Linked DNA regions of Homo sapiens: region 2 is linked to region 1. The links are contacts of gene promoters, found by promoter capture Hi-C in human tissues and cell types (Jung and others, 2019). All regions are on one chromosome and are shown on one strand. Each heading gives the region's core, a stretch centred on a gene start or on the middle of the fragment in contact. The rest is flanking DNA. Distances are from core to core; before and after follow the strand shown.

Region 1 (4,933 bases), core at 1,000-3,499:
GGCATTGAGACTGCGTCCCATAAAGCTGAAAGAAGAGGGAGTGGAGCACGCTGGACCATGCCCCCATAAGGGCTCAGCCAGTAGTTTCTGGATGAAGAAATGAAGGAATATTCTAGAATCTAGGGCAAGGTAATGATCAGGGCTGGGCCTAGCGGGAGGCAAAGGAGGCATCTAGGGTCTAAAATGTAAAAAGACTCTCACGCTTGGGCTCCTGGGTTTACAGGACTCTGATGGTGAACTTAAATTTTGCATTGCTCACTGGGCAAGTGTCTTAACCTCTCTGTGCATGGGATCCTAGACAGCACCTGCTTATAAGGCTAATATGAGACCTAAAAGCATTAAAATGCAGGAAGTGCTTCAAACATTGCCGAACACACAGACTGTATGGCTTTTAAGGTTTTTTTTTTTTGATACAGGGTCTTGCTCTGTGACCCAGGCTGGAGTACAGTGGCGCCATCACAGCTCACTGCAGCCTCAACCTCCCACGCTTAGGTGATCCTCCCATCTCAGTCTCCCAATTAGCTGGGACTACAGGTGTGCATCAGCACGCCGGGCTACTTTTTTTATTTTGTATTTTTTGTAGAGATGAGGTCTCACTATGTTGCCCAGACTGGTCTTGAACTCCTGGGCTCAAGGCATCCTCTGCCTCCCTAAGTGCTAGGATTACAAGTGTGAGCCACCGTACCCGACCTACACAGACTATATGTGTTTGCCACTATTGTCATTCACTAAAAGGCCAAGAGGGGTTGATGATACCTGCCCAGGGCATTCTGAAGGCTGTGCTGGCCAGGAGGTGGGGGGTGAGGGTCCCCAGGGAGGGAGGAACCAATCTTTCTGGAGCACTCACTCTGTGCAAGTGCTGGGCACAGCTGGCACCCTCTCCTGTAGCCCCACATCGATCTCAAGAGGCAGAGACTTTCACATGCCCATTTCACAGATGAGAGAACTGAGGACCATGAGCAAGAGGCTTTCCAGCATCTCGCAGAGGCTGAACTGGGATCAGGCAGGTGCGTCAAGCCTAGTGCTTGGGTCCCTTCTGCTTCGCCTAGGGGGGTGCCACAGGGTCTGACCTACCTGGGTTCCAGCCTCCTCTCTGCTGCTGTTGCATGACCTCAGGCAGCCCCCTCTGTTTCCTCATCTGTAAAGCGGGCATCAAAACAGTGTCTGTTTTGGGGCCGGGTGTGGTGGCTCACACACCTGTAATACCAGCACTTTGGGAGGCTGAGGCGGGCAGATCACTTAAGGTCAGGAGTTTGAGACCAGCCTGGCCAGCATGGTGAAACCCAGTCTCCACTAAAAATACAAAAATTAGCCAGGCATGGTGGCACATGCCTGTTATCCCAGCTACTTGGAAGGCCGAGACAGGAGAATCGCTTGAACCCGGGAGGCAGAGGTTGTAGTGATCTGTGATCACACCACTGCACTCCAGCGTGGGTGACAGAGCAAGACCCGTCTCGAAAAACAAAACAAAACAAAAAACCAGTATCTGTCTTGGAAGTGCTGAGAACAGACAAGGGAATATGAAGTTTGTGAAATGTTGAGCCCGCTGTGCTACATTCCTGTAAAACACACACGTGCACATGCACACCCACGTGCACACACGCATACACATAAATGCACATGTGCAGATACACCGGCTGACAGTGACAGCACACTTATGTGTGTGAAATGCTTTATGTGCTCAATTTCTTTTAAATCTCACAGGAAACACACGCTATGAGGAACTACCCACATGCCCACATCAGGCAGGAGGACCCCGGCGGGTGCAAGGGTGGAAGTCGTCTCTTCATGGCTGCACCCTTGGCCAGTGCCAGTCCAGCAGCCTCTTTCAAAGAAGCTTTTATAGGCAGATAGTTTGTCAGCCCAGCTCGAAATGTGAACAAGGTAGCAGCCGAGCCCCCACCCATCCGGCTGCACTCCCCTGCATGTCCAGCCCCGAGCCCTGTGTCAAGCACACCTCCTTGGGAGGAGACCGCCCCAGCCTGCAAGGAAGTGCTCATTATGGAGAGTGGAGAGTGACAGGCCACTCCCGGCCACGTCTCCAAGCAAGCCGGTGCCCCCTCCTCCTGCTGCCACCGCCCACTGAGCTGCCTGGGCTGCAGACGCCCTGGTTGGAGCGTCTGGGGCCAGATGTTATAGGGCAAGCTAAAAATAACCGGGCAGGCCAGCCACCATCGAGGAAGGGGCATGTGCTGGACGCGGACACATGATCCGAGGGACCCTGCTGGGTGGAACTAAGAAAGTCCAGCAGACTGTGCACGCTCCTGTCCCCACTCACAGGCCCACGCAGCGAGGGGGGCCCCTCTTCTGTGTGCGTCTGGAAGGTCGCTGCCCAGGGAGGAAATGCCTTTAACCGGCGTGGGGCCGGGCAGCTGCAGGAGGCAGATCATCCGGGCTCTGTGCCTCTTGCTACTTCTCCTCCACGCCGGCTCTGCCAAGAATATCTGGAAACGGGCATTGCCTGCGAGGCTGGCCGAGAAATCCCGTGTAAGTGCCTGGGATGGGGAGGCTGGGGCAGCCTGTGTGGGTGGGAGTCAGCCTTGAGGAGAGGCGATCCCTAGACACTGCCTTCTCCTGTAAGTGCTCCCCCAAAACGTGGCAAGGCAGGCGTCTTCCTATCCGTGTGTGTCTGAGTTGTGTGGTGGGCAGATGGGGCTCACCCCCAAAAAAGGACCCTTATCTGTGAATCAAGAGGCAAAAGACACATCACAAATGTGCCAAAGAATCGTGCCTTACTTTTGCCTTGTTACAAAAGTATGCTTGCTCCTGAAAGACAGCATCTCATTTCGGAACCCCAGGATTTAAACGGAGCATTCCGTCTCCCTGATCAGTACCAAATGTTTGTGAAATACACTTATGCATTCATGTGGTTGTTTATTCATTCAGCAAACAGAATGAATACACTCTGTTAAACAGAATTTAGCAGAAACCGCTCTGGGGAAGGCACTCTGTGGGGTCCTGTGGATACAAGATAAAGGAGGTACCAGCCCCCATCCTCAAGGGTGGCGTGGCCGAGGTGCAGAGGCAGTTGGGTGACAAACGATGGCAGTACAAAGAGAAGGCATGAGGCAGTGAGTGGCAAGAAACACATGCCCTGGGGCCAGATGTCTGGGTGTGAATCGGGCTCTGCTGCTCATTAGCTGCGTGGCTTCTCTCAGGCAAGCTGCTTGACGTCTCTGAACCCCAGCAATCTCATCTGCAAAAGACAGAGGGATGCATTTCTTCACACAACTATGTCTGGGTCGCCACTGTTTACCAGGTACTGTCCTAGGCTGTGGGGATACAGGCCTCACATCTCTGCCTGGGGAACTCAATGGGGGGCTGGGGGCAGCAAAGAATAAATGAGAGAGATCTCATTTATTAGTATGTGCAGATTGCAAGTGCTGAGGAAGCAATAAAGCAGGAAGGGAACTAGGAGAGAGAATGGGGTGGAGGAGGCTATCATTTTTGGTTCCTCCCACCCCCCAGAGATCACAGATCCGCAGGGACGGAGTGAGCCAGGACGATATCAGCACACAGAGGGCTCAAGAAGGTAATGCTGGCACCCACAGCACCTGTGTGAGGATTGAATGTCTCAGTATGTAGAACGTCTTTGCAACATAGCAAGCTGGCAGTGCATCTTGGCAGCTTTCAATCAAATAATTGTGACTTTGTTTGGTGTTGCCTAACAGGGTAGCATGTAGGTTCCTTGGGGTAGGGCAGGGTTCTGTTTCACTAATGTGTGCCCCTGGTGCCTGCCATTAAGTTGACGCCTGGTACATTCTTGTGGGTGAATTATGAGCGGCTGCAGTGGTAGCACGGGATGCGTGTGCAGCTCTTCCCCAGGAGAGTCAGACAGGGTTTTTAGGGTTGGGGACAGTGGACCTGTGGCTTTAAAGGATAAATAGGAGTTTGCCAGCTGGAGAAGAGGGAAGGGAGAATGATTAATGACCCCAGGCATAGTGGGGTGCCTGAAACTGTATTGAGACAAATCTGGGCCTCCAGGGCTCATATTCTCCATGTTCGGCACATGCTCGTGGCGGGAGACAGGAGGACTTCGAGAAGTGGAAAGAGTAGTAGAGTGACATGATGAGGCGCTTGGAGAAGGGAAAGCTCATGTGAGATGGTGTAGTCACCTAAGGCTTCCTGGAGGAGGTGGAGACCTTGACTGGATCTTGGGGAAGGATTAGGAATTAGGAGGAGGAAGGAAATTCCTGGAAGAAGGCTCAGCATGAGCCGAGGCTCACAGGCAGAAGTGGTGCATCTAAGAGCTGCTTGGGAGACCAGACCTGGCCAGAGGGGAGGCATTGAGGAGGGGTGAGAGACTCTTCTCAGATTTTATTGACTCCTCCATGCTCTTCTCTGGTGCAACAGGATGATTTAACCCTCAACTGTAGTTAGTAGCACTTTGGTTCTACAACCATAGAGAGATTGCCAATATGTCATCTGATTTTATCTCCACCATGTCCCAAGATGTCATAGGAGCCAGCACTGTGACATCCACATAGGAGGGTCAGGGTTGATATGCGCGGGGGATTTGGGGGAGTCTCTAAAACACAGGCCTGGGTGGGCTGCAGGAGCTGATTCACTTGTAGCCACCACTGGTCAGGATGCAAGTGCTTTGAATTGGCTCCTCGCTGAATTGAAACTTTCCCTGGTTATCAACAGATATTGGCCTCCTTCCTCAGCGCCTAGACATAGGTGAGGTTTATGCAGAACAACTGTGCCAGCCAGGCACGGTGGCTCATGCCTGTAATCCCAGCACTTTGGGAGGCCGAGGCGGGTGGATCACCTGAGGTCAGGAGTTCAAGACCAGCCTGACCAACATGGTGAAACCCCATCTCTACTAAAAATACAAAATTAGCTGGGTGTGGCGGCAAATGCCTGTAATCCCAGCTACTCAGAAGGCTGAGGTGGAAGAATTGCTTGAACCCGGGAGGTGGAGGTTATAGTG
Region 2 (4,933 bases), core at 659-3,158, 41 kb before region 1:
CGTTTCCCCAGCACCTTTGTCCCCGGATCAGAACTCACCTTCAGAGAGGTGCAGTGAGAAGGGGGGTCTGTGCAGAATGGGGGTCATCTAAGAATGGACGGGGAGGCACAGCCGGCACAGGCCTCTGGGTAATTGGAAGGTCAGTTGTCACCTTTCAGGGCGGTTTCTATGGCAACAGAGGGAAGTTGCAGTGTGGAGGGGAGGGGAGCCCAGGAAGCTGGAAGTTTGGGAGTGAATGAATGAAAAGGAAGGTAGGGTGAGAGGTGGGGGGACAGGGTGGAGGCCAGGAGGTGAGGGGAGTCAGGATCCAGTGGAGAGGGAAGAGGGAGATGCAGGCAATTGAGGGGCAATCCAGAAGGCAAAACTGTGGGGAAAGCAATGAATTTCCTCTCAGTCCTGTGAGATGGGAGGCCTGGAGGGAAACCCGGGAAGAGGACTTCCCACAGAAGGCCGGGTCCTGGCTGACAGGCAGGGAAGGAACCAGGATCTGGGTCTTGTTGGATATGGAAATGGGCTGGTCCCAGGCGTGTCCTGGACTGTGATGGGTAGGGACCCTTTTAAAGTTTCCCAGGGTTTCCAAAGAACAGCCTGGGTGAGTCTGTGTAGCCCAGCACACGAAGACCCCACTGGGGCAGCGTTGAGAGCGGTAGACTGCCTTCAACTATTCCTTGTCAGTTGCTAATTATTTCCTGCAGAACAGTGTGTGTGTGTGTGTGTGTGTGTGTGTGTGTGTGTGTGTGTCGGGGGCGGGGGGGGGTGTTAGTTTCTTCCTCCGCACCCACTTCATCTTTCTACTCTCCCCCACTCCCTGGTGCCCTCCTGCGAAACTTTTGTGCTGTGCGTCTGTTCTCAATGACTTGCCATCTGCTGAGCCATTTCTGAGTATGAGTGACACCAGCGGTCCAAGGAAAAGAGTGTTGTTCCAGTAAGTTTGGGGGAAGGAGGGCCAAGCAGGTTCCCTTCTTGCAGAACTGCTCAGCACCTTTGAGAAGTTGATGGAAAAGGCACTTTGTCCATCATGCGCAACACTGGGGTTGTAGTGGAGTCTTTGGCATGGTGCAGGGTGTTTTGCACCGGCCTTGTTCACAGGAGTGGAGTCTACTCAGGGGTGACAATGATGGGACAAGAAGGCCAAATGGCAGGAGATGAGAATAGGAGTCTTGGGAGTAGGGCACAGTGATGGGGAGCAGCTGGCCCATTTCAGGCGGTCTTACTCCTGAAGGCCTCATCTCACAGCCTATCAACCTTCTTATGTGCACCCGCTTTTCACATCCAGAAACTGGTTTGCTCTGCAAAGATGTGGGTACATATTTATTGTTTTGCTTTGCAAATCTTTTGGCTATGAGGACCTTGTTTAATGGATGATTGGCACTGACTCCTCAGCAGACGTTGTACCTGCTTTAGAGAGGTCACTTCCAATGTGACAAGGAAGCTGACATGTGGCTTTTCAATGTAATGAAATATTTTGGGTACAAAATTGACTAATGAACAAATGGATATATTAAATATCAAAATCTATATTAATAACAGGTTATTTTTCCTCATGATTTGGAAACTTTGCATGTTTTCAGAATCATCCATCTTTTGGTAGGTCTTTGGGAAGCTTGACGGTCCTGGATCTTGGGGGCTAGGGGTGCCTAGTGGGGTCAAGGGAGGTCTGGGGGTCTTGGAAAGCCAGGAGGGGTGGGAGCCTGAGGTCTCCAGGAAGACAGGGGCGAGGTGGAGAGACAGGAGATCATAGGCAGAGATTGGCATCTACGTTCAGGATGTTGGAATTGGAGGAGTGTTGGCGGAGGGGTGTTGGGGTCCCTTGTGTCTGATGTGCCTGGGCAAGGAAGAGTTTCTGCTACCAGGACTCTCCTGAGGAAAAAGGATCTAAAACTTGGGAGCAAAGCAGACGGCTGTGTGTGCATCCTTTCAATGTCACACTGTAGCTTCTGTGAACAGGCCAGCTCGGGAGTTATTTATATTTAATTCTCTGGGGGAACTGTGGCTTTGTTTGACTCTTTTTGTACTGTTGAGTAGGGCCCCCGGAGTCTGACGTTAACATGTTAACTTGCAAATTTTTGTCTGGTAGAAATGAGTCTGATTGCTGTCTGTTAGTGAAGAAACCTCCAAGGTCATGGTTTTATTGCCCTGAAGAATGTTCTCCAGTTTTGTGTCTCACCCAGAATCCCTGTCCCAGCATTCTTCTCCCATGCCTGTGAATACTCAGGATGGTCACCAGCTTTAGTGTTCTTGGTCCTTTCACTTATGAGAATGAGGGATTTTTGACACATACTCATTCATTCTATATTCATGGGACAAGTTTGTTGTTTTTTTTTGGTTTGTTTGTTTGTTTGTTTGTTTGTTTTAGTAGAGACAGGGTTTCACCATGTTGCCCAGGCCAGTCTCAAACTCCTGGACTGAAGCAATCCACTTGCCTCGGCCTCCCAAAGTGCTGGGATTACAGGTGTGAGTGATCATGCTGGGCCCCATTTAAAAAAATGTTTTGAAAATTATATTTTGATGCCCTTTCCTAGTAGAACACATCTCCTGGAGGCCCAGGAAGGGAAGGTGGAGACTGGGATCATTGGGATCTTTGAGAGATTTTTGGTCTCATGGCACATGGTGGTGCCTCAGATGCAAGCACAGCAACCTCTGAGCCCTGCTCCAAGTTTGTATAGGTCAGTCCCCACTTCCAGGTGCCAAATTCTGTCACAGTGATCTTTTGCTGTGCAATAAGCCATCTTGAAAACACTGGCATAAAATAATGATTATTTATTACCAATTTTTAAAAAAGAGAGAATCCTGGCTTCTGTGGGTCAGGACTTTGGGCAAGGCACAACAAGAAAGGCTTTTCTACTTCATGATGTCTAGGGTCTCAGCCAGAAGCCCCAGAGCTGAGGGTGACTCTAGTATATGAGGCGGTGGCTGGAGGATCCCCTTCTAAGGTGTTCTTTTTAGTCCTGTGTCTGACACATTGGCAGGGATGGCTGGAAGGCTGGGCTCAGCTGGGACGGTTGCTCAGAGCACCTCTCTGCGGCCACTTCAGCATGGCAGCCTCCATGGGTAGTGAGACTTCTGAAATGACAGGTCAGTGCCTTGTGAGTAAGGTAGGAGCTGCATGGCTTTTTGTGACCCAGCCTGAAAAGTCACATAGTGTCATGTCTGCTGTGTCTAAGCAGTCAGAAGCCTGCCCACTCTCAAAGGGAGGGGACCCAGGCTCCACTTCTCAGTGGGAGGAATGTCAAAGAACCTGTGGTCATGTTAAAGTTGCTGCTGCTGCTTCTACAATTTCCATCCTCTTTGGTCCTTTCTGATGGCTCCTAATAACCCACATCTCATCATAAACCACAAGACTTTGCCAGAAGCCAAGGAAAGAGCAGCCCTCCAAATTGCACCTTTGTTCCCAGTTCCCACCAGAGTCCCTGGAGATTTTATCCATTCGTGATATCTTCTTTCTCTTGGTTCTTCCAGTCTTAGGGGTGGAGCTTCCAGTAATGTATTTGTGTTTCCAGAGAGCTCAAAACACAGCAGAAAATATGCCTGTTGGCATAGGGAATGTTCATGCTACATTTGGTAAGTGAAGAAAGCAAAGGAAAAATCAAGTGGAAGAATATAGATCAAGGTGCTAAGTGGTTATCTCTGAATGGAAGATTTAGAGGTAATTTCTATTTTGCTTTTGCATATATGTATTTTTCTTTTTTATATGAAGCCCAACTATCACATGGAAATTAAGCGTGTAGGCTCTGAAGTCAGACTCCTTGGGTTTAAATCTCCATTCCTTCAATTTCCAGCTTTCTAACCTTGGGCAAGTTACTTAGATTTTGTAAAACTCAGTTTCCTCATCTCTAAAATGGGGATAATGATAGATCACTAGTTTTTACCTCAAAGGGCTGTTTTAAGGATTAAATAAAATTATGTATGTAAATACTTTGCATAATTTTTGGCATAAAATAAGCAGTCAGGGTTAGGGATTATTTTTAGTGGTTTCATTAATAAGTTTTAAAAGAGATAAATGAGTCTTGTTTCTAATATCTTGATAATGGCACTTCGTGTGAATGAATCTGTGTGTTTTACCAGAAACACCAACTCGGTTTTATTGCTGGAAATATCTCATAATTTGCTTTCACACCTTTTAAGAGCTATTTTCTCGAGACATACTCGGCTTTTATGAAGATTTTGAAAATCTAGGGCAGTGATTTTCCTTAGAGGGGAGCAAGAAGGTCACCAGGAAAGTCTGCTGTCCTCCCGTGGATCCTCATTTTTCTAGAGTAAGTATTTAATCAGGCAAGATTGAGAAGCTAAAAGCAATAGAATAATTGACCTAATTTTTTTTAAGTGCAGAAGTTTTGTTCTTTGCCTGAACACAAACATATTTCTTATTCTAAAAGGATTTTTAAAAATTTGTTTTGCTGTCAGCAAAAATTTAGGCTTTTGCACATAACACTTTTGCTAGCTAAGTAAATAGGAAGGACAGACAAGACTATCCACTGTATATTTAGTCTGAATGAGCAAAAAGTGGTGGAGAGGTCGGGGTTACGGTCTCCTTATCCCAGTAAAACTAGGAGACTGAGACCCTCCAGCAGTGTTATGCTGTGGGAACAGGGCTGGCCTGGATCTAAGGAGTTAGGGTTAAGCCAGAGCTGGAAGTTTGTCAGTTATACACCTGGTGTAAGAGCTAGCATGGAAGGAACATACAATAAGTGATGAAGGGATGGATGGATGATGAACAGATAGATGGACGGATGGTTAATGGATTGATGGATGAATAGACAGACGATGAACGGATGGATGGATGATGGATGGATGGATGGACGGATAGATGGATGAATGAACAGACGTTCGAATGGGTAGATCTCTTTCCACTGTCCTAGGCTGCCTGAAGGTCTTGAGTCTTGGATCTTCTTGTGAGCTATCAATTGCCTGCTCGATAATGAAATACCAGTTG

The links. Contacts are between HindIII fragments. The study calls those that stand out against the background at their distance.
Region 2: a fragment that was not itself captured here is called in contact with the fragment with the promoter of WFDC1 in region 1 in 9 of the 25 tissues and cell types used here (H1 embryonic stem cells, IMR-90 fibroblasts, adrenal gland and 6 more).

The regions. Positions count from the first base shown.
Region 1 is chr16:84,292,629-84,297,561 of GRCh38, forward strand. It overlaps WFDC1 (WAP four-disulfide core domain 1), which reads left to right and starts at 2,250. Exons shown (of 7, transcript NM_021197.4): 1 at 2,250-2,487. The coding sequence starts at 2,344. It overlaps LOC124903734, which reads left to right. Exons shown (of 6, transcript XM_047435022.1): 5 at 889-1,007; 6 at 1,705-2,210. The coding sequence ends at 2,210. The HindIII fragment of the contact is 18,601 bases long and covers 1-4,933 here.
Region 2 is chr16:84,252,219-84,257,151 of GRCh38, forward strand. No RefSeq gene overlaps it. Among named protein-coding and RNA genes, the nearest start is that of KCNG4, 15 kb to the left of the region's middle. The HindIII fragment of the contact is 8,191 bases long and covers 1-4,933 here.